Regions from separate parts of the Homo sapiens genome. Here all the other regions are linked to region 4. The links are contacts of gene promoters, found by promoter capture Hi-C in blood cells and fetal thymus (Javierre and others, 2016). All regions are on one chromosome and are shown on one strand. The core of a region is centred on a gene start or on the middle of the fragment in contact, and the rest is flanking DNA. Distances in the headings are between cores, read along the strand shown.

What was found. The method cuts DNA at HindIII sites, captures the fragments that hold promoters and counts their contacts. A CHiCAGO score of 5 or more calls a contact.
Region 1: a fragment that was not itself captured here is called in contact with the fragment with the promoter of IFNK in region 4 in 1 of 17 cell types (neutrophils); the score reaches 7.2 in neutrophils.
Region 2: a fragment that was not itself captured here is called in contact with the fragment with the promoter of IFNK in region 4 in 1 of 17 cell types (neutrophils); the score reaches 7.5 in neutrophils.
Region 3: a fragment that was not itself captured here is called in contact with the fragment with the promoter of IFNK in region 4 in 9 of 17 cell types (naive B cells, total B cells, M0 macrophages and 6 more); the score reaches 21.7 in naive B cells.
Region 5: a contact is called between a fragment that was not itself captured here and the fragment with the promoter of IFNK in region 4, in 16 of 17 cell types (naive B cells, total B cells, M2 macrophages and 13 more). The highest score is 33.7, in naive B cells.

The regions. Positions count from the first base shown.
Region 1 is chr9:27,667,581-27,672,318 of GRCh38, reverse strand. It overlaps LOC105376002 (a long non-coding RNA gene), which reads right to left. Exons shown (of 3, transcript XR_007061441.1): 2 at 3,197-3,298. Among named protein-coding and RNA genes, the nearest start is that of C9orf72, 96 kb to the right of the region's middle. The HindIII fragment of the contact is 1,618 bases long and covers 2,507-4,124 here.
Region 2 is chr9:27,683,383-27,687,703 of GRCh38, reverse strand. It overlaps LOC105376002 (a long non-coding RNA gene), which reads right to left. Exons shown (of 3, transcript XR_007061441.1): 3 at 3,495-3,540. Among named protein-coding and RNA genes, the nearest start is that of C9orf72, 110 kb to the right of the region's middle. RefSeq lists an enhancer at 3,314-4,321. The HindIII fragment of the contact is 4,418 bases long and covers 172-4,321 here.
Region 3 is chr9:27,387,283-27,392,154 of GRCh38, reverse strand. The region is part of intron 2 of MOB3B (MOB kinase activator 3B); the gene reads left to right. Among named protein-coding and RNA genes, the nearest start is that of EQTN, 93 kb to the right of the region's middle. The HindIII fragment of the contact is 334 bases long and covers 1,274-1,607 here.
Region 4 is chr9:27,522,171-27,526,668 of GRCh38, reverse strand. It overlaps IFNK (interferon kappa), which reads right to left and starts at 2,379. Exons shown (of 2, transcript NM_020124.3): 1 at 1,708-2,379; 2 at 171-662. The coding sequence starts at 2,332. The coding sequence ends at 1,709. All of the region lies in intron 1 of MOB3B (MOB kinase activator 3B), which reads left to right. The HindIII fragment of the contact is 1,828 bases long and covers 1,076-2,903 here.
Region 5 is chr9:27,349,660-27,353,914 of GRCh38, reverse strand. All of the region lies in intron 3 of MOB3B (MOB kinase activator 3B), which reads left to right. Among named protein-coding and RNA genes, the nearest start is that of EQTN, 55 kb to the right of the region's middle. RefSeq lists an enhancer at 1-303. The HindIII fragment of the contact is 6,818 bases long and covers 1-4,255 here.

The DNA.
Region 1 (4,738 bases), core at 2,066-4,565, 140 kb before region 4:
AAGTGTATCTGTACTGGAATTGGAACAAAGCTGAGAGACCCAGAAGAGGTTTGCTGATAAGGGACTGTTGGCCTCAATCTCAATACCAAATACATAGAGATCACCAGAACACCACTGAACATAAGAGACTGTTGGCCTCAATCTTAACACCAAATACACAGAGATCACCAGGACACCACTGAACACAGAATGAAGACCTCGTCATAGAGCATGTCTGACTTCTGGTGAAGCGAGAATACTGAAGACTTCACAATCCAACTGATTCCAATTTCAAATCTACCACTTGCTCTCTGAGTGCATTGAAGAGGTTATCAACATTTCTGAGCCTCAGTTCCCTCATCTGTAGAAATTGTAGTAACACCTGCCAGATGAGTTTGTTCTGAAGATTAACTCAGATGCCCCAAGTGAATCGTGAATCGCAGTGCTCAGCACGCAGTAGATACTCAGGCAATTTCCTTCTGGAAGACCCTTGCCAAACTTACATATGCTTTGCTGACAAACCAGATGTGTTCTTGTTGCCTCAGAGGGTATAAATCCCATTTGTTTTTTTAAGTCCAGCTCATGCCGTTAGCATTTGAGAGCTTGCACTACTCCCTCAAACATTTAACATTTTCTGTTCAGTTAGCACAGCATCGAGACTTCAAAAGCAGCTTGAAAATAAACTTGATTCCAAATATGATTTATAATGTCCCAAGAAACAGCTCATTTACCCAAGAAGGCTTCATCAATTATTGACAGATGTACCCTCTGAGGAGAAATAGCATTAATACTAGGAGACTGAGGGAAAAGCATGCCTCAACCCCATAAGCCAATTATCCAAGGTGATTTTGAGCATTAAATCCTTAGATATGCTTAATTTACTGTCCCTTGCCTATAAGCACAGGAAGAAGTATGAGAAGGGAAAAAAATGGTAACCAATTTAAGACTGCTTTTAAAAACAAAAAGAAGGCATAGCATCAAGGGGAAAATGTATTGGAGGGAATAAGTGGGTGTTGGACACATATGAGCTTATAGATTGAACATCCCTGGACTTCAAGCATTTTGCCCCCTCAGTGCAGAGCCAGCTACTACCCACCTGTTTTTTTTCAGTACAGAAATAATTGTGCTTACCTGTCTCTGGCCTAATAATTATAGCAGAGACTGATTTTATTCTCAGCATGTTTATTGTGGTCGGATTTTCTCAGTTTTCAGGGCAAAGGCCTTACTAAGGATGCTAGCATTATTTGCTTTAACATCAAGCTAGTGACAAGGCTATGCAACGTTTTGTAAAAAGCCAAGAGGCCAGTGTGAATCCAGCCCAGGGGGCTTGTAATCTGTGTTTGACATGCAAATATTAGAAAACCTTGGCAAGACTACAAGGTTTACATGCAAGGGAAGAAAGAAAATACATGAGGCCAATACATTTGAGAATGCTAATATATTTCTCTACAGTTTTCTCAAAAGGAGGAAAATAGGAGAGGGTTATTTTTCCTAAAATCCAAATTATAAGGCAAAAGGTGACCAATTATGACTACTTAGCTTTAATTTTCATGTACTGAGGAGTGTGTGTGTGAGTGTGTGCATGTGTGCATGCATGCCTACATACATTGCATGCATGTTTTGAATGAGTGTGCGTAGATGGAAATAAAATAAACTTGGGATAGTGAAGAGGTCTACCTATGTAAAAATTTTTGCATGATGAATTGAACATTTCTATATTCAGAAATAAACCCTGCCACACGAAACCTAAAAAATTACTACCCCGACTTAATGCAATCTATAAAGTACAGTTATAGAACATTCTAAAATTACCTGCTTATACCTCATGACCTGGCAGAATAATTATAGGCTAGATTCTTTCATCTTTTTTACACTCTTTTTATTGAGAATTAAGAGATTCACTGTATTGGGTTATTAAAAGCCTGACCTCTTATAGCATGCATTCTTATCCCATTATTAAGCTGTGTATATAAAATTCAGTAGGCCTTCACTTTTATAGCTTTAACTTCTAAATTTCAAATTCAAAATCAGCATTGAAGTGCCAGTTGGGTGCCAGGCACTATGCAAGTGCTTTTAAAGGTACTGCCACATTTGATCGACACCCAGATTCCTGGCCAGGAATATTCTGATTCCAATCTAGTAAGCATCCTACGACACCACAACCTTCTATCATTGCCTTGCCATCAAGTCTTGCAAGGATTTTAGACAGAGAATTGGAGGGGAGGAAATCAGCAAAGCCAGATCCATGTCTGGTACACCACTGGCTTTTTACTAGAAGTGTACGCCTTTATTCTTTGGAGACTCCAATTTCTCTTAACATAAAACTGAAGCAAGAATACAGAATTCTTGATCAACTCACAAAAACATTATCAAGCGTCTTAAGTACATTCACCCCTCTGAGGTTTCCTCGATGTTCAAGGTTTGAATAAACCATGTAACCTAAATAAACCATCAAATAAATGGTGTATCCTTGAACAACAGATAAGCTTTTTATTTTTAGATGGGGTCCCTCTGTGTTGCCTAAGCTTGTCTCAAACTCCTGGCTTCAAGCAATCCCCCACTGTCCGCCTTGCTGGGATTAAGGGCATGAGCCATGGCACCCAGCTGAGATGAGTTTTAACAACTAGTTATTTTAACAACGTTGCAATTGCTCAAAATCTTGTGTTGGGGAGAGGAGCAGTCCAGGGCACAGGGAGTCCTCTTTGGAATTGCCATCATCCCGAGAATGCATTCTTAACATCCTCAAATGTTCATTCTTTAAGGGATGGAAAATTTTTATCCTTTGGAAGCACATTTGAAACATCCAGAAGTTATTCAGAGCCAAGGGTGATAAAGTGAGGGATCAAATGGAATATGACTTTCTATAAATATAAGAGGTGACTATAAAGTAAAGTAACTCATTATCTTGAATAACTTGTAAGCTAGCATTGAAGACAATCGCAAAAGAAAATTCCAGAATATTTTGGGTATCTGTACTCAAGATATTTTAGGTAACTGCACACACCAATTCACAAAGTTACTTCTTCACAATAGTTAGATAGCTAAAACAGAGAGGAAAATATAAGAATACATTTCTTCTGTTAAGTAGGTAAGAAAACTGATTGGAAAGGTAAGCCATTGGCCTGGGCCATGTGTGTGTTTGCATATGTGTGTGCATGCCACACACAAATGGGAACTGCCCTCGTTCGACCATCATTTTGAAAGTTCTGCTACTTACCTCGTCTAATTATCTGAGCACCTGAATCTTGAGCATAGCTGTCATACCTCCTTAGAGCATGTTTATATCTTCGCATTCTGGGAGGGATGTAATTTTCTTGACCTGAAAAAAAAAAAAAAAAAAAGGAGTGATGTCACAAGCTCTGCTTTTAATTACAACTATGTACTCTCCAAAAGAGTAAAGCATGATTACATATACAAGGATACCTTGTTTTATTGTGCTTTATTTACTGCACTTTGTGAATACTGCATTTTTAATAAGTTGATGTTTGTGGCAACTCTGCATCCAGAAATTCTATTCAGGGACATTTTTTCGACATCATGTGCTCACTTCATGTCTCTGTGTCACATTTTGTCAATTCTAGCAATATTTCAAACTATTTAATTATTATTATACCTATTACTGTGATCTGTGATCAGTGATCTTTGATGTTATTATTGTAACTGTTTTGGGACACCACAAACCCCACCCATATAAAAGGATACATTTAATCAATAAATATTGTGTTTGTTCTGACTGTTCCACCAACCAAACATTCCCTGACTCTCTCCCACTCCTCAGGCCTTCTTATTTCCTGAGAAACAACAATGTTGAAACTAGGTCAATTAGTAACCCTACAATGACTTTGTCTTCAAGTGAAAGTAAGAGTTGCATGTCTCTCACTTGAAATCAAAGGTTAGAAATGAGTAAGTTGATTTGGGAAGACATGTCAAAAGCCAAGATAGGCTGAAAGCTAGACCTCTTGTGCCAGTTAGCCAAGTTGTGAATACAAGGGAAAAGTTCTTGAAGGAAGTTAAAAATGCTACTCCAGTGAACACACAAATGATTTTTTAAAAAATGCAAAACAGTCTTATTTCTGATATGGAGAAAGTTTGAGTGGTCTGGATAGAAGGTCAATCCAGCCACAACATTCCCTTAAGCCAAAGCTTAATCCAGAGCAACGCCCTAACTCTCTTCAATGCTATGAAGTCTGAGAGAGGTGAGGAAGCTGCAAAAGAAGAGTTTGAAGCTAGCAAAGGTTGGCTCATATGATTTAGGGAAAGAAGACATCTCTATAACAAAAAAAAATGAAGGTGAAGGAGCAGGTGCTGATGTAGAAGCTGCAGGAAGTTATCTAGAAGATCTAGCTAAGATAGCTGATGAAGGAAGCTACACTAAACAACAGATTTTCAGGATAGATGAAATTTCAGTATAGATGAAATAGCCTTACATTGGAAGAAGATACCATCTAGGACTTTCATAGCTAAAGAGGGGAAGTCGATGCTTGGCTTCAAAGCTTTAAGGGACAGGTTGACTCTCTTGTTAGGGCCTAATGCAGCTGGTAACTTTAGGTTAAAGCCAGTGTTCATTGATTATTCTGAAAATGCTAGGGCCCTTAAGAATTATGCTAAATCTTGAGCCAGGTGGTGTGGCACACCTATAATTGGGAGTCTGAGGTGAAAGGATTGCTTGAGCCCGAGAGTTTGAGTCCAGCCTGGCCATTACAGCAAGACCTCCATCTCAAAAAACAAACAAACATATTATGCTAACCTACCCTGCCTG
Region 2 (4,321 bases), core at 1,131-3,630, 160 kb before region 4:
GACAGAAGACTATTTCTATGATCCAGTAGAGAAAAAGCCGTTTCCTAAACTAAAGAGAAGACAATGAATTGAGTAATACTGAAAAGGTAAAGTTAACATGACTTGGTGTTCAATGGAGACACAGATAAAGGAGACTTGGCAGGAGATGATAGTCTATGAGGAAACTAAGCTTTTTTTTTTGGCAAAATTATAGGATATGATTTGAGGGATGTAACACTTATCTAGCATTTAGGATGTCCTACTGTGATTAATTTTGACACCCTTTTTACCACAAGATATTACTTTTTTAAAATGACGACTTGAGTTTTAAATGTATTGTAGATTCAGTCACATTACTTTAAGGTAGCTCCTGATATATGTCCTGTCTTTCCAAATAGTGTAAATTTTTCTCAGGCAGGAATTGGGTTCCTTATGTCCCTGGCACTGAGCACAAGACTTCCTCTTTGATTGCAGTTTTATTATACACAGACAACCCATTCCTGATCAAACACTTGGCTTCATAAATACGAAAGCATGGGAAAATCCCAAAGCATCAGTCCCAATAGTTTCATCCTCTATTTTCCCTCTTCTCATTTTAAAAATCTGAAATAATGTAAGATTTCAATGCCAATACTACAACAGAGAGCTCATTCATTTCTCAAGTTCTGGAATAACATCCTGAGTTACAGATCTTGGTGGTCCTTCTTAATGACTGATTAGAGTTCTTGTCTTTACCTCCTACTGATGATTACTTGTTTTGATAAGATGCTGAGTGCATTGACTTAGTACCTGTGTTAATTGCTTTATCCTGTTAGAATCTGATTTTCAGTGTGTTGAAAAGTTAGCTTAAGCCAGTGGTTCTCAGCCCTGGCTACACATTAATATCGCCTGGGATCCTTTGTAAAAGAGCAATGCCCAGGCTCCACCCCCAGGGATTCTAATGTAATTGGACCAAGGTGGATCCCAGGTATCAGTATGGTTTGAAAGCTCTGCAGTTGATTCTCATGTACAGCCAAGTTTGAGAACCACTGACTGAAACAAACCTAAATGGGTATTTCATTTTTCTGAATTCAGCTGCCGCTATCACACCAGTCGACCCAAGAAAAAGTGAATGAAAACTTTGATCATCTCATGTAAGTCTATCTAAAGAAATCTGACCTATCAGGAACACCAATAAGAATGAGGAAAGAATCCAAACCATCAAAAAAGTTGGTATGAAGTCTGTACAGAAATGTGCTAAAGTAGAGAGCTAGATTTGATGATTTTTAGAAACAAAAAAAACAGCTCTATTATTTTAGTGGTTACACGACATTGGAGAAGTTATTCTTGCATCTCAGTTTCCTCATCTGCCAAGTATGCATAAGTCTTCCTCATGAAGTTGTTAAATAGATTTAATGAAGGTCCTGTATTAATATACTTAGGAAATAGTTTGCTCACATTTCAACTTCTTTTGAAATTCCTACATCACTCAAGGCATACTATATTTCTCTTTTGCCACATTCTCAGCATTTGAAGGATTATTTTAACTAGTTAATCTAAGAGCATTTGCAACTTAATTTTATTTTTCTAATGAGTGCTTATCAAATATGTAGCACGATATAAATGAGTACATTGTAACTTTGTGGATATCTTAATCTCATGTGCATATTTTAAAATACTTTTATTTTCAAGGTAAGTCAACAAAGAAGTGCTAACCAAGAAAAAATAATCTGTCACACCCAACACTAGTGCCCAGTGTTATGGGTCACTGAACACTAATATTCATTGGGCAGGTTGATCACTTGACAAAGTGTCCTATCTCTGAAGAAGCCAGCACCTGGCTAGAGACCCACCTGCCACAATAAGCCAGGGGTTAAGGGTTTGAGCCACAGAGGCTGACCATATGAGAGCAGCTGGGTAGGCATAATCCCATGCCAATGGTAACAGACAGGTCTATGTTCTCAAGAGGCCCAGCAGGCTTCTAACCAGGTGAAGTAATACAACAATTCCTCACCAATGCCAACCACACCAAGTTGTGAAATAGCATGGCTTTGTGTTTCTATGTAAAATCATTAGATCCCACTCTTTTAAAATTCTGTTCTGTTCAATCCTCTTACAAAAATATGAAGTATGCCTGATTTTCATACCACAACTTCAGATGTTCAAAACTAGAGCTTTTTCTTAATAACTGAAGTTGATTTCTATCTCAAGCCCTTCATATTTCCTGATAGACAATTGATCTGGTCACTTCCAAGTAAACCCAACCACTTCAGTAATTTCTTGTTTCAGCATTACACTGAATCAGATTGTGAACTTTCCCCTTTCTCCCTTCTCTCTGCAGTTAATTCTAACTCAAGTGCTTACACAGTGATGTAGTATATATGAGAAAGTGTCTCTGTGGTTGTCCAGAGTTGACAACTCCTGATATATGCAATCATAACATCTTATACTTAGTGTTAACCCCCAAATGGGCTTCCACTGAAAGTGGCCAAATCCCAGAACTCATCTGGGTCTCAGATTGAATGGTTCACACCACCACTCGTGGTTGCATCCCCTTGTCATGACCTTGAGAACACTTTGGAAATCCAGATTTCTGCATCTGCTGAAAAGTTTACTTTTATTAGGGACATGTGGTAGTTGCTACCCTTCTTCTTGGGGCAATAGAACAATTAGGATCTGTGAACAAGCCCTCTCTTTGACACCAGTGCAGTAATTTCAGCTCTACTACCCCATGCTGAGTGGCCTGAGATCTTTGTGTGTCTCTCCCTTCCAGCCACCCAGATGGGAAACAGAACACAGATAGGGGAAGTTATGCTACAGTAATAAACAATACCCAAAAGATCAACAAAATTTTATTCCTCACTCATATAAAATCCACTACAATTCCAGAGAACTCTCCATGACCTCTGTCTTGATGTAAGAAGAAGCAGCAGGCTGGAAAGTCTAGCTCCAGTAATTAGATGCTTGGACATAGAAATGAGCCAAGTCACTTTCATTTACAATTTAGTGGCCAAAGCAATTCACAAGTTCATACCTATCTTCAAGGAGAAGTACAATGTCTCATATGCCCAGAGGAAGAGCAAGGCTTGAATGTTAGTGTGCTATATCAATATCTTCTATAGCACTGTTTCCTCTATACTTACACTTATCTGAGGGTCTAATAGTCTCTTTGCCTATCACTTGGCTCATTACTTATTGACCCAAAAAGGGGCTTATCCCTAAAACCAGTGTCTATTTCTCTTTATGTTTCCAAATTTTTTCCCTCTCTTCAGCTGGGAGCATCTTTATCTAGTGAGGGAAGAACAGAGAAGACAGATTATGGAAAGATTAATAGAAACTTTTAATTTTAAAGGTCAGGAATTTGACATTCATTTCTCTGTCCTCTTGTCAAGCTCCATTGTGCTATGTACTCCATCCCAAATCTCCTGATGTGGAATATCATCCTCACATGTCTTCTTACATAATGGGCCAGGGTTATGCGATGAAAAGTCAGTAGAAGTAGGTGAGTATCAATACTTCACATTTTTTTCCACCATCAATAATGTATTTCTCTTTTGTATACCACAAGTGGGTCAACTGGGACTGGATAGAGAAATCAAACATGTGTAATTTATCAATAGACAGACCGGAAAACATATCTGGAAAATGTGTACTTAAGTGTTGTGGTAATTGGTGAAGAGGCCAGCGATGATGCTACCATTTTTCTGGCATTTGCTGAAAATAAAAGGAAGGGAAATGGAAGTAAAAAAGATATTCAATTTTAGGCTAAGAAGCTCAGTATAAAACTTTAAAAAGTGGTGCCTTCTGAATAGCATAGCACTTATATGAGCACCTGTCTCAGCAAATCACAATGCCACGGTCATTTCTCCTTAATCATTGAAGGTGATTCAAGAGATGGGTTGCCCACCAGAGAGACGTTTCATGCTGAAGAATCTGATTTTAAAATATATTTAATAGCATTTTAGTTTTTATTTCTCTGGACCTCTGTGAATTACGACACTTCTGTTTTGCCCATTATAGTACTTTTCAGGATCTTAATCTCTGAGACTACTGTTCTTAAAGCCAGGAACTCAGAGAGTTATGACATCTAGTTTATCTATTGCTACAATTAAAATATGTAACAAACAACCCTACAGTTTCAGAGCCATACAACGATAAATTATTACGCTTACATATTGGGGACCAGCTGGGCGTCAGCAAGGTGGCTCTGCTGATGTTGACAGCGATTGCTTACATATCTGGGGTCTGCTGGGTGTGGCTAATCTACATTGATCTCGACTAGGGTGACAGGATACTCTGCTTTGGTCCATGTGTCACTATTCCTCCTGGGACCAGCAGTCTAGCCTGGGCATGTTCACACTGG
Region 3 (4,872 bases), core at 191-2,690, 130 kb after region 4:
CCTGCCCTCAAAGATTGATTCAGTAGTTCTGGGTGAGACCCAAATTTGGATTTTTTGCAAGCCTCTGAGGGGATTCTGATGCTGCTTATATGGGGATAGTACTTCCAGGAACTCTTATAGAAAGGCATTGAATCTGATATGAAATTATCTCTCCTCTGCATTGAGAATTCTGTATTTTTGCCATAGAGACTTATAGAGGCATGGCATCATGTCAAGCTCAATTTTGTGAATTATATGAGATTTCTACATCTATTTTTGGTTAAAATACTGGAGCAGAATCATCTTATTTGCTTTAAGCACTTCCTCTCAAAATCAAATTAAGTAAAATTAATCTCTTCGAAGAAAAGCATTCTCTAAATTTGAAGTCACTTTTATGCTTAACTGAACATATGATACCTCCAAGCTGAATCCTGGGCCCGTCAGGGAAGTCTGAGTTCCGTATGTGACATCAGTTGGTTGCTATGGAAGTGTAGGCTGTGCTATAAATTCCAGCTCCACGCAGATTTCTCTTGATTGCAAGTCAATTGAGAATGATTTGTAATTTTTTGGATCACACTCAGAGATGCTATTTAGTGTAAACACTTACTTTCATTAAAATAGTTTAATAATTGATGTCTATGGTTTCCAAACGTTTTCAGCATCACATTTTGCACATGAATAGCACACTTCCAACAATAACATAACTCATTACATGACGGGATTATTGACCCAAGAGAGGTGAATCAGTTTATCCAGGACACAAAAATAACTTAAAAAGCTCTGCCCCCTTCCCCTAGGGACCTTTTAAGCTTTACCCACCACACCCAACCATTCATTTATATAAATAAACTTCACCAAGATCAGATATACTGCCAATATTTTAAAAAGAAGATTATTACTGAAGAATCTGCTGAGGTGAGAGGTAGGCAGTCGCCTCTGAATAGGATGTGCTCAGCCAAACACCATCCTGTGAACGTGGTACATTTAACCAAAGCTCTCTTCTTCCCAAGACCTCGTTTCAGAAAAGAGTAGGTGTGAGTAAAGGGTTCATGCCTTTGCTTCTCTACTTCTCTGCCTGACTAACTCAAACTTCAGAACTCCTCCAGGATTTTTTCTGATTTATTCTGTTCAGGCTGCTATAAGAAAATGCTGTAGACTGAGTAACTTGTAAACACAGTTTCTCACAGCTCTGGAGGCTGGAAAAGCCAAGATCAGGATGCCAGCATGGTCAGGTTCTGGTGTAGACTGCCAGTTTCTCAGTGTGTCCTCAGGTGGTGGAAGCGGGGAGGAAGCTTTCTGGAGCTTAAGGCTTTTATAAGGGTAATAATCCCATTCGTGAGGGCTCTGCTCTCATGACCTGATCACCACTCAAAGGCTCTACCTCCTAATATCACCTTGGGGGTTAGGATTTCAACATACAAATTTTGGGGGGACTCAAACATTCAGTCCATTGCACCCTCTGATTCCTTCAACTGGGTTAAGTTCTCCGCCCTTAGTCTCTCACTGCTGAACTCCAATACATATATTCTCACTATGGTGAAAGGATTTCGCCCTGATTGCAGGCTCTGTGATCAGACAGCCTGGCTTCAGATTACCTGTCTGCCAGTTACCCTGTGGGAACTAAAGCTTATGAAATGTTAGCAGTGTCTGGTACATAAATAATATTAGCAACTTGGCCGGGCACGGTGGCTCACGCCTATAATCCCAGCACTTTGGGAGGCTGAGTGGGGAGGATCACTTGAGGCCTGGAGTTCATGACCAACCTGGTCAACATGGCAAAACCCCGTCTCTACTAAAAATACAAAAATTAGCCACAGTTGTGGCGGGTGCCTGTAACCCCAGAGGAGGCAGTGAGCGGAGATCGCCCACTGCACTCCAGCCTGGGCCACAGAGTGAGACTCAGTCTCAAAAATATATATAATTAGCCAGGCGTGGTGGCATACACCTGTGATCTCAGCTACTCAGGAGGCTGAGGCAAGAGAAACGCTTGAACTTGGGAGGCGGAGGTAGGCGGAGGTTGCTGTGAGCCAAGATCACACCACTGCACTCCAGCCTGGGTAACATAGCGAGACTCCGTCTCAAATATATATATACACACATATATATTTTATATATATATATGCAACTATTGAAATATGATTTAGGAAATTGGTGATTTAGGAAATTGGTGTACTTCTACTTTCATTCCAAGTAACAACTTTTATTTTATTTTTATTTTTAATTATTTTTTTAGCAGATGCTTAGAGTGGAGGGTTGTGAAAAATTCAGAGGCCATATCCAGGATTAAGAGGGAAAGACTGGAGATCAAGTGGTGATGTCTCCTCGGTCTCGGTCCAGGCTGGAAATGGGAGCTGTATGCCACATATTTTCTCTTTCTGCACTAGACTAAAAGTGACTTAAAAGTGCTAATTCATTCAGGCCTTTAATTTATTTACTACTATGTACCAAGCACTGTGGTTTCCATAGCATATACATTAATGAATAAAACAGACAGAGCCCTGGCCTCAGGGAGCTAATGGACTAGTGAAAGAACCGGATAATCATAAGGAAGCTAGAAAATAAAGACAGAATACAACTAGTGATGGGGAGTGCTGTGAAGAAAACCATGATTATAGCCACAAAGAATCGAGGGTGGGTCAGAAAGCTACATTAGAAAAGGTGGTCAGAGGAGGCATCTCAAGAGAGATGGGAAAAGTGTCCGAGCAGTGAGAACAGCGCATGCCAGGACCTGAAGTAGAGAAGCTCTCGGCATGTTCAAGTAATTGGAAAGAAGCCCATTTGGCTGCAGCGTAATCAGAAAGAGGAGTGGAATGAAACGGTGGGGTCGCAGGGAGATAGGCAGGAGGCAGAGCACATAAAGCAGTGGTTCTCAGCCTCAAGCATGTATCCCAACTCCCCAGAGAGCTTGTGAAAACACAGATTGCTGCCCCACTCCCAGAGTTTCTGATCCAGTAAGTTTGGGGTGGAGCCTGAAAATTTGCATTTCTAACAAGTTCCAAGTGATGCTGCAGGTCTGGGGACCACTCTATGAGTACTCCTGATATAAGCCTTTTTCAGTCCACGGCAAAGGGCTTGGATTTTATTGGAAGCATTAGTGGGATACCATCAAAGGAGGTCAAGAGTGATAGCTTTAATTATTATTTTTAAAATGATTACTCAGACCATTGTGTGGAGAATTCATTAGAAATTGTCAAGACTAAAAATGGGGAGGCTATTCAGAAAGTTGTTTACAGTGGTCAGGCGAGGGCAGTGGCAGTAGAGGGAAGAGGAAACTTTCAAGATGAATTTAGGAGTGGCATCGATAGGATCTGCCTGTGGATTATGGAATGGGTAGGGAAGAAGACACGGAGGATGTTGACTGGGTTTCTGGCTTGAGAAAGGGAGATGGCCAAGGCACGTACTGAGATGGGGGAGATTGAAGGCAGGAACATGCTTAGAAGGGAAAGGAAAAGAATATATTCAACATGTGTTAGACAGGTTAAATTTGAAGAATCATCTCCGAAGACTCAGAGCCTAATAAGAATGATACATTGGACTTTGGGGACTTGGGGGAATGGTTGGGGGTGGCGAGGTATAAAAGACCACACCTTGGGTACAGTGTACACTGCTTGAGTGATAGGTGCACCAAAATCTCAGAAATCACTGCTGAAGAATTTATTCATGTAACCAAACACCACCTGTTCCCCCAAAGCCTATTGAAATAAAAGAGAAAAAAAAAGATACTCTGAGCCTAGTATATATAGACATTTCAATGAGTGAACTAAAAATAAAGGTAATAACCCCCTGGTCAGTGCTAATATGAAAGCTGTATGGGTGCTTGGGGACCAAGCCAGCTCCTCAGCCTCTGTCTCTGGGAGCTGAGAGTGCTTAGTAATAAATCATTGCTGCATCACCAGAGTAGCCTCCTACATAAATCATTTTAGACGCAAATCAGTCACCTTTGGAAACTAGATTAGCTCTTGGGTACCTGGAAGTTAACGGTATGTGCAACCTAAAGTGGAAGCTCCTTTGGAAACAAGGTTTTTCCAAGGTTTATCCTAACACTGGGTTTTTAAACTTTGGTACTATTGATGTTTGAGCTGGATAATTCTTTGCTATGGGAGGCTGTCCTGTGCATTGTTAAATGTTTAGCAGTATCCCTGGCTTCTGCTTGCCAGGTGCCAGTGGTAGCTGACTCCCAATTATGACAAGCAAAAATGCCTTCAGCCATTGCCAAATGTTGCCTGTGGGGGGCAAAATCATTTCTAGTTGAGAAACATGGCTGTAAGAGGACTCTGACATGTTAACCCCTTGTGGTACCCCTTGCTGCGAGACAAACTCTCTTCTCCATTTAATGTACTGTCCTTGTTTTCCATCCTAGCCTCTCAGAGCCTGTACTTTCTGTCTTTCAAGGTGACTTTCAATCCATCCGAAACGTTAATCCAGGTCAGTGGTCAAGGAGATGCTATAACTCTAACCATTTTCTAAAGAGGATATCTCTGGCCTTAAAATATTCCCATCAGTGTTGGTGATGCAGGGAACTTTAGGGTATCCTGGAGGAGGAAGAATGTACCAGGAGAATCTGATGGTAATTATGATAATGATAATAATAGTAGTTGCAGCAGCTAACATTTATATAGGAATTTGCCATACATAGTCTAAATATTTTTAACATATTAGCTTATTGAATTCCTTATAGCAGCACAGTGACTTTGGCACTATTATTATGATTCTCATTTTACAGATGAGGAAACTGAAGTGCAGTGACCTACCCAAGCTTACACAGGGAAACAGCAAAGCTGGGTTCAGATCCAGGCTCTTTACTATTTCCAAAAGAGGGATAGGCATCTGATGAGAGAATATGGGGCAGGTGTGTATAAAATGGTCTGCCTGTTAAGACTCATCACCTTTAAT
Region 4 (4,498 bases), core at 1,130-3,629:
TTAAAAAAGCATACTGTTCTGACTTCTACCCCTGCCACACATTCAGAAAATGTATATTAACTGAAAGCTCAGCTCGGCTTTCTCAGCCATTCTCTTTCCTCCAGGATAGCAAACACTTGGCAGGACTGCAACCATAAATGACTAAAGTAATTGACCTCATTCCAGTAAAGTTATTAGAGAGAACAGGCAAAGACTTTATTAGAGAAAGTCATGAAAAATAGCAAGTATATATTTTATGCTCAGTAGCTTGCATGTCCTAACTCCTTTACAAGCTTGTAGTACTATTTTTAATCTGGAACAACTCTGCTGATAGTTATTTTTACTAAATGGTTTGCACTAACTCATTTTATTGTCTGATCCTTCTGCTGATAGCCTGCATATACCATGATCCACAATTTGTTCTTGTTCTTTTAAACATCTCTTCTAACTTCTTGGCTGAAATTTGCCTCACTTTTATCATAAGACTTTCTTTGGCTATAACATTTGGGCCCTGCGCTTGGAATAATCTTGAATCTGAACAGTTTGGCAGCATGCTGTTAGTGGCATGAGCAGGAAATGGCTTCCAAGGGCAGAACCAGGTACATTTCAGATATATTTCACCCTTTTTTGGTGCATTTGCGTAGCCACAATCTCTGTTAATTCTTGCTTGAAGGTAGATGATTCTGAAATGGGGTAGATAGAGGTGCGAGAGGAAGAGAAAATCCATGTCAGCTAGGTGGTGAATTAATATAGATGAAGGGCCGTGCTAGAAAAGTAAATAATCTAGGTAGTCTGGCTGCAAAGTAACTTTTAAAAAGATAAAAGATATTAAAGTATTATGTATTATTGGAATAGCTAGTTAAATTAACTCACAGAATGTAGTCTTCTAACTAGGAAAATCTAATGTAAAATTGTTCCATATTATGACTCTGGACATTTTATTTCAGGCACATGAAAAACAGTAAAAGACAGATTCTGTACCATACTTTTCCACAGCATTTTCCATGCCTTTAGATGTAGGAATCAAACAATATACATCAGGAATGAAGAGTGTGCTACATTAGAATCACAGACTCTCAAAGGTTAAATGAAAGCTTAATGGTCGTCTAATTCAACCATCCATCCAATTTCACTATGGATCTTCACTCTTAAAGTAATGAAATACTATTCCACAAGCATCAATTCAAACAAACCAAGCTGAGAAGGAAATGGGCCAGAAATGTCAACCTTTTTCCCCCCGAGCAGGAGGGGGAAAATGCAAGAGTATTGACTCTAGGGAGCATGTATAAGCTCTTTTAATGTGCTGAATTTTCATAGGATAAGCAACCTTGGCAGCAAAACAGTTAAGTCATTGAAATGTTACCATTTTGCAACATTCTCTGCTCCCTATCCTCTAGCCATTGTCTTGGTGAAGTCCACAGGTGGTATATATAGCAAAGCTCTTTCAAAATGGCCACAGAAAAGAGCAAGAGAGAATAGAAGAAGACGGAGAGGGAATCTTATTCCTTTAAAAATGTCTTAAAGACTTTCTAAGGAGACTCTTGGTCACCCTGAGGATGGTTGGCATTACCTCTCCTTAGAGAGGTGAGTGTCCCTGATGTTCCGAGGCTACCAGTCCAACTGAGGACAGGCTTACAGGACAGCACAACAATCCTTAAAAAGAAGTTGGAGGAGGAGAAGGAGAAAGAGATTTCGGAGGGAAAAGGAATTTTAATTCCAAAAATATACCTTATTTCCTCCTGAATAGAGCTGTAAATTTGTAAAAGTAATACAAACATCTTCTGATTTCCACTCGGACAATCTCCCAGGCACAGTCACTGTATTTCTTTTCTTTCAGGAAATTGTCTATCCTGTGGAAATATCTCCTCAGTTCCAGGCTGCTCAGCTGGGGGACCCTGGCTTCTGAGGGTTTCATCTCATTCTCTTTCATTTCTTTCATGTCTTCATTTTCATTCTTGTCTTCCTCCAAGCATTGGTTCAGGTACTCTGCTTGCTGATCAAGTCCTATTTGGATTTGTTTGAGGTGTCTCTCTTTCCAATATTTGAAGGTGTGTTGGCTGAAGATGTTGAAGGCCTGTAGGGACATTTCATAGAAGGCCTTCTTGATGTCCCTCTTCATAGGTTGGGTGTATTGCAGAAACTCTTGGGGCAACTCAAAAGCTATGTTTTCTCGTAGACATTCTACAGGAAATGAATTGCTCATACTACTCAGATGTCTCAGATTTTGCCAGGTGACTCTTCTCAGGTGAACGTTCAGTAAGTTACAGTCCAGGGATAGGGTGCCAGCAATGAATATACCCATAAGGATCTCAAGCCACAAACACTTTTGAATCATATCAGGTTTGGTGCTCATTTTTTTTGCAAGCTAAAAAATCCAGAAGATGTGTATATGACAATGATGTTTTGAGTTTTCCTTCATGTGCCTTTATATACCTGAATATCTTCAGCAGGAGGAGTTTTCTCATTCGTCATTTCACAGTTAACCAAGGTTGCGGCCCCTTTCCTTTGCCTCTGAGGCTTTTTTTTTTTTTTTTTTTTTACTTCGGGTGACTATGCCGACTTTGGAAGTGATAACTTTTTTTTTTCCCTGAAAAATGAGCAAAGAATTACCATCGTGTTACCTTAAATGCCTGGATGATCCATCCCAGCACTAAGGAATCATCATAACAAGACTGATGCAGGGTATTTCAGAAAGCCAAAAGCTGTGAGTCCATGCACTCACTCACTCACTCACTCACCCAAATCTATTACATAAGAGGGAGTGATCCTTCATGAAAATATATTTTTTGTACCTGGTGCTATAGCCAAACATCCTGTCTCATTGAGTTAATCATAGACATTGACCAAATGACTGTGATTATTTGATTGCTAGGTCACCAGAGCACAGTATAGTTTAGGTTTTTCCAATTTTGTTAAATTAAGCTTCTATATTTGGATATTTTCTCTTTTTGATTTTTCTGGATCTCCAAAAAGATGAAGAATAGAGCTGGCACTTACTAAGTAGGAGACTAAGTTGGCTTGGTTTTCTGTTGCATTAGAAAATGTTGATAATCTCTAAATATCCTTTTCTTCAGTTAAATCCATCCTGGACTTAGCCTTCCATATGCCTCTGATACCTTTCTTAAAAGTCCTGGAGGGGGTTTTATATTTGAGAATATCTTTCTGCCTCATTAACTTCTCTCTTGTAGTATCATTTTCTTTTCTTTTCTTTTCTTTTTTTTTTTTGGTGCAGTTTAGGCAGTATTTTTAAACTTTTGCTTGATTGCTTGATTATTATATCTTCTTGCCTGGTGGTTCTGGATTCTGTAAAGGCTTTTGTTTGCTCCTGTGTTTGTTGTGCACTGAGGAGGTATGTGAGTAGGAAGTCACCCATTTAGCTAAGTGAATTCCTAGCTGGACCAATGTTACTGTGGTAATGATGGCTATCTATTGTTTATGGTTTTTACTTTGTTTGACCAAATAACCTTCCTCTGATTATGGTTAAAGCAAATGGATTCTTTTCTCCAGGAAAATAAAATGGATTGTCATTTTAAAAAGGTAGCTTATTATATCTTCTCAAGAAAAAAAAGATATACATTAATTTGCAATTAAGTCATTGTAAAATGGTAAATAGCCACAGTTCCACAAACATGGCAGACTTTGATTGAAAAGTTGGCTTAAAAAGTTCTTGTCTAAATCAGTTGACTGCACCAAAGGCTAATTGTGGGTAAGTGGGATTTCTTAAAATCCTGGCTTTTAGGAAAGGTTTCTTACGGAAAAAAATATATATATATATATTATTCTATTTGTTCCATCTACATAAATTCTTATTTCATGGGCAGATTTCTTGGGCTGACCAAATTTGGAAAACATTAAGAAAACAAGCCCTTTTATATAGCGTTATAAATTGACACAACCTTCCTAGAGAGGAAAGTGGTGATATGGATCAAAAGCCTTAAAAATGTACATAATATTTGACTCAGCGATTGATCCTCTAGGAACTGATTCCCCAGAAATAATGATGATGCCCTTAAAGACTTAGCTGTAAGGAAGTTTGTCACAGCAAAAAATGGAAAACAATTTTAATGTTCAGCAATAAATACTTAGTTAAGTAAGCCATCAGTAGAAAACATATATGTAAGCACTAAAAATTATGTGTGGGAATATATTTGGTCACTTGGATAGATACACTTTGTAGTTTAAAAAACAAGCTTATATTTGCATATAGAGGCTGATACCACTTTTGTTAAATATAGACATATGCATATATATATATATATATATATATATGAAAAAATGTCTTGATATATATGCAAAAATTTTGAGTCACTATCTCTAACTGGAAGAATAATGGGTGGTTTTTATTTTTATATTTTTATTTACCTGGATTTTTTAAGTTTTCTGTGGTGAGCAAGTATTTCTTTTTCTTTCTTTCTTTCTTTTCTTTTTTTTTTTTTTTTTTTTTTTTGTGAGACGGGGTCTTGCTCTGTCTCCAGGCTGGAGTGCAGTGGCGCGATCTCGGCTCACTGCAACCTCCGCC
Region 5 (4,255 bases), core at 1,607-4,106, 170 kb after region 4:
GAAAATGGGCCAGGCCCTGATTGAATAAGCAGGCTGCTGTTGGCCCTTGGCTGCCAGGGAGTCAGCTGACACAATTAAGCTAATCAGAATTATCATTAGCAAGCACGAATAGCCCGCAGTGTTTTGTTGGCCTTTCACTGAAAACAAAAGCAGACTCAGAGAGGGCTGTTAGCAATGCAGTAGTTGTGAATGAAGAGCTGATTAGGGCAGGGGGAGGACAGAGATTCGTGAGGTGGGGAGGACAGACAGGAGGGGACTTGTTTACCCTAATGCACCTGCTAACCCCTGGGTGACCTTGGTCCAGGACCTTCTCATTCTCTCTCCAAGGCTCCATTTTCTTGTTTCTAACAATGAAAGTGATTATACCACCACCTACCTTGTAGAGCTGCTGCTGTGAAAACCAATGTTACCACAGAGCTGTTCTGTTACCTTATAGCAGGGTGCTTGGACCATAGGGGTTTCTCAGGAGTCCACACACACACACGTGCATCAGAATCTCCTGGAGGAAGTACTTCATAAGTACATTCTTGGGCCTCACCCCAGATACACTAAATCAGAATTATTAAGATTAGTGCCTAGTACCAAGCACCCTCAGTCTGCATCTCAAACTTTAATGTGCATGTGAATCACCAGGGATCTTGCTGAAATGCAAGTTCTGATTCAGTACATCTGAGAGGAGGAGACTCGAGAATGTTCATTTTGCTCCCAGATGATATCGATGCTGCTGGTTCCCAGACCACACGTTGAGGGAAAAGACCCTAGATGACAATTACCCTCAAATGTGAGAATTACCATTTTTAGCACTTCATCTCTTCTCCTCTAGGATTGGGAGTTAGCTCAGTGGGGTGGGGAAGTAAAGCAAAAAGGAGAAAAATCTGAAGATCAGTGTTTGCCAAGAGAGCTCCTCAAAATGCCAGTCCTGAGTGATGGTCAGTGAAAACAGACTTCCTTCTGTGGTCAAATGAGTTTACAAAATACTACATCGTCTCCACCCTTGAAGATTTACAGTGTACAATAGCATATCAAAGCCTTTGAGAAGGTATCCAGTAAAGAAACTTGTTCAATTTTGTGTAGCCCGCCCAATTTAACTGCATTTGGCTACTGGACTTTTTTCTTTTGCTATCACTCATTGACATCTTAGAGATATCATGATCCATGGAACACACTCTGGGCAGCACTGCTCATCTTTGTGATGTGATGTGTCTCTAGATTTTTCTATTTTCCTCATGCCTCCACCCTGGCCTCAAACCACACAGCCACCACTGCCGCATGGAGAGGGAGGTGGGAAGGAAGTGAAACTCCATATGGGAGGGCTTCACACACACACAGGAAGTGCAGTCCTTTTCATTGTTGCTCCTCATCCTCCCACATCATCATATGACAGACACCCCTTCGTGGAATTCTTACCATGTGCATGACGCACAAGCATTTTCAAGAAATAATTAATAACTTCATTTCTTCAGTTCCAGATAATCTGTTAGTTCCTCTTGACATATATTATTTCATCTCCTCACACTTGTTACTTTTTTTTTTTTTTTTTTTTGAGACAGGGTCTCACTCTGTCACCCAGGCTGGTGTGATCATGGCTCACTGCATCCTCTAGCCTCCTGGGCTCAAGTGATCCTCCCACCTCAGCCTCCTAAGTAGCTGGGGCTACAAACACATGTCACCACACCTGGCTAATTTTTAAATTTTTTGTAGAGACAGGGTCTCACTACGTTTCCCAGGCTGGTCTGGAACTCCTGAGCTCAAGTGATCCTTCTGCCTTGACCTCCCAAAGTGCTGGGATTACAGATGGTACCTGGCCAGACTTGTTACTATTATTTCCAGCAGATGTGATGGGCAGTTTCTCAACATCTGAACCACATTCCTCTCCATCCCTTATCACTGCCATTTTGTCACACCAAAGTGCATGTCCCACCCCCAGTGTGTAGGTGCCTCTTGGCTAATGATTGAGATTTATGGTAGGCTCTACCACCAAAACTATCCTCTAAAAACGGGTGCTTTTTAGAACAATTTGAAGACCAAAGATTTGGAAAGCCTTGTCTCATAAAGGCCCAGCCACAAGCCTATCCAGGCCCCAGAATACACTGACCTCATGTTGCCCTAAGAGGTAGCCAGGCCACACATACACTTCTCTCAGAGTTGCTTGGGTGAGTGCAGCAGCCAAGGTTGGCCTGCAATGGTAAGATCAAGTCAGGACTGTGAAAAGAAGCAGAACCTCTCGCATGAGCCAGAGCTACTCCCTAAAGTAGCCAGCAATGAAGAGCCATTGTGGGGCTTTTGAAAGGACCTTTTCTTTTGAAACATCATCTGTACAGAGGCCTCTGGGTTGCTTCTTGTCAGGCGGCTTCCTTGGCCTTCAGCCAGAAGGCTTGATGTGGACTCAGCCATTATAGAAGAAAGAGCTGCAGCCTGTGAAGCTGACAGTTTGGCCTTTACAATGGCATTTCCACTATTATGCTACCACATTAGTTACCACATGGGGCAAGGCATGTAATGGCTCTGAGCCTCAGTTTCCCCACCTGTAAAAGACATCATCCCTAGAATCCTCCCAGCCTGACCTACAGAGATTACTGATGGGTCACTACTAAGATTACTGACCTACTGGGATTACTACTGATATGATGTGTCAGCAGCCCTGTCATCTTTCATCCAAGACAACCGTTTCTCTTTGCTTAGAGAGCCCTTCATGGATTAAAGCCCACTGTGGGCCAGGCGTGGTGGCTCACGCCTGTAATCCCAACACTTTGGGAGGCCTAGGCGGGTGGATCACCTGAGGTCAGGAGTTCCAGACCAGCCTGGCCAAAATGGTGAAACCCCATCTCTACTAAAAATACAAAAATTAGCCAGGCGTGGTGTCAGGTGCCCATAATCCCAGCTACTCAGGAGGCTGAGGCAGGAGAATTGCTTGAACCCAGGAGGCGGAGGTTGCAGTGAGCCGAGATCGTGCCATCACACTCCAGCCTGGGGCACAACAGCGAGACTTCGTCTTAAAAAAAAAAAAAAAAAAAGCCCACCATGGCAGCAGAGGGGCAGAGGGGGTGTACATGTTGCCAAGAGTAGCTGGAGTGTGCATTCATGGGGCTTTGCCAGTTCAGATGACAAGTATATGTGTGTCCAGGGTGGCATCGGCTGTTGGTGGTTGTTCAGGATAATGCAAAGGCTCAGAGATTAGTGGGAGGGCCTGCCAGATATCATTTTAGGAGACTTGGCAGATGTATTCTAAAGTGTCAATTGGAAAAATAGCAAAGAAACATGATTATTTCCAATGAATTGCCTTATGCTGGGTAACTGGGGATGTGGCAAAAATAGCCACATGTCTCTGCCAGTCCTATTTATTCATCCCTTGTTGATGTCCAGAGAACTTTTGCTTCTAGTTTATAGGGTGTTGGGTGGTTCATTTTTGTTTTAGGGTTTCTCTTTGTTTCTAATTTGGTCAGAGATGAGATGTGGTCTGATTTGTTTCAGGGCCTAAAATATGATCAATTATAGTTGAAGATGTCTCTCATGGGAAAATTGCTAGCATATAATATTAAGTAATAAAAGCAGGATACAAAACTGTACTGGAAAATCACTAATCATATGTCCACAGATGATAAAGGAAATAGAGCAAAAAGTGCCAACAGTGGTTCTCTCTTGGTATTACTATAGATAATGCTTTTTTTTTTTTTTTTTTGGTATATACTTTTTGGGGCTTTCTAAGTTTTCTGTCACAAACATGTGTCACTTTTCTAATCAGAAAAATCAAACTTTATACTTGAAAAGGCTTTTCCAACCACTTGTGACTACTGAGATTAACATTAAATTAAAAATTAGTTTCTTAGCCTTACTAGCCACATGTTAAGTGCTCAAAAGCCACATGTCTAGTGGCTATTGTATTGGATATCACAGATACTGAACATTTTCATCATTGTGGGACATTCTCTCAGACACCACTGAGCCAGAGGCTCTACCTTCAAGAGCTACTTTTTATAACCCACTCTTAACAACCACTCCCTCCACAAAGAGCTGCCAGATGTGTTCACATTGTCTCCATGCTGCCACATGAGGCATTTCCGTTCATTGTTTAAGCCCCCTAGTATGGTTGCTTCTCTTTGCTAAGCCACTTCTCTCCTACTTTATTGATAGGAATAAATAAAACTCAGTACCTTCTGCTCAACATTTCTCCCTAGATTTCCCATCAGAACCTCCACCTCAGGAAGCTGCTCAGTATCTTAGGGGAGCTGTTGGTCAGAGACACCAAATAGTAATT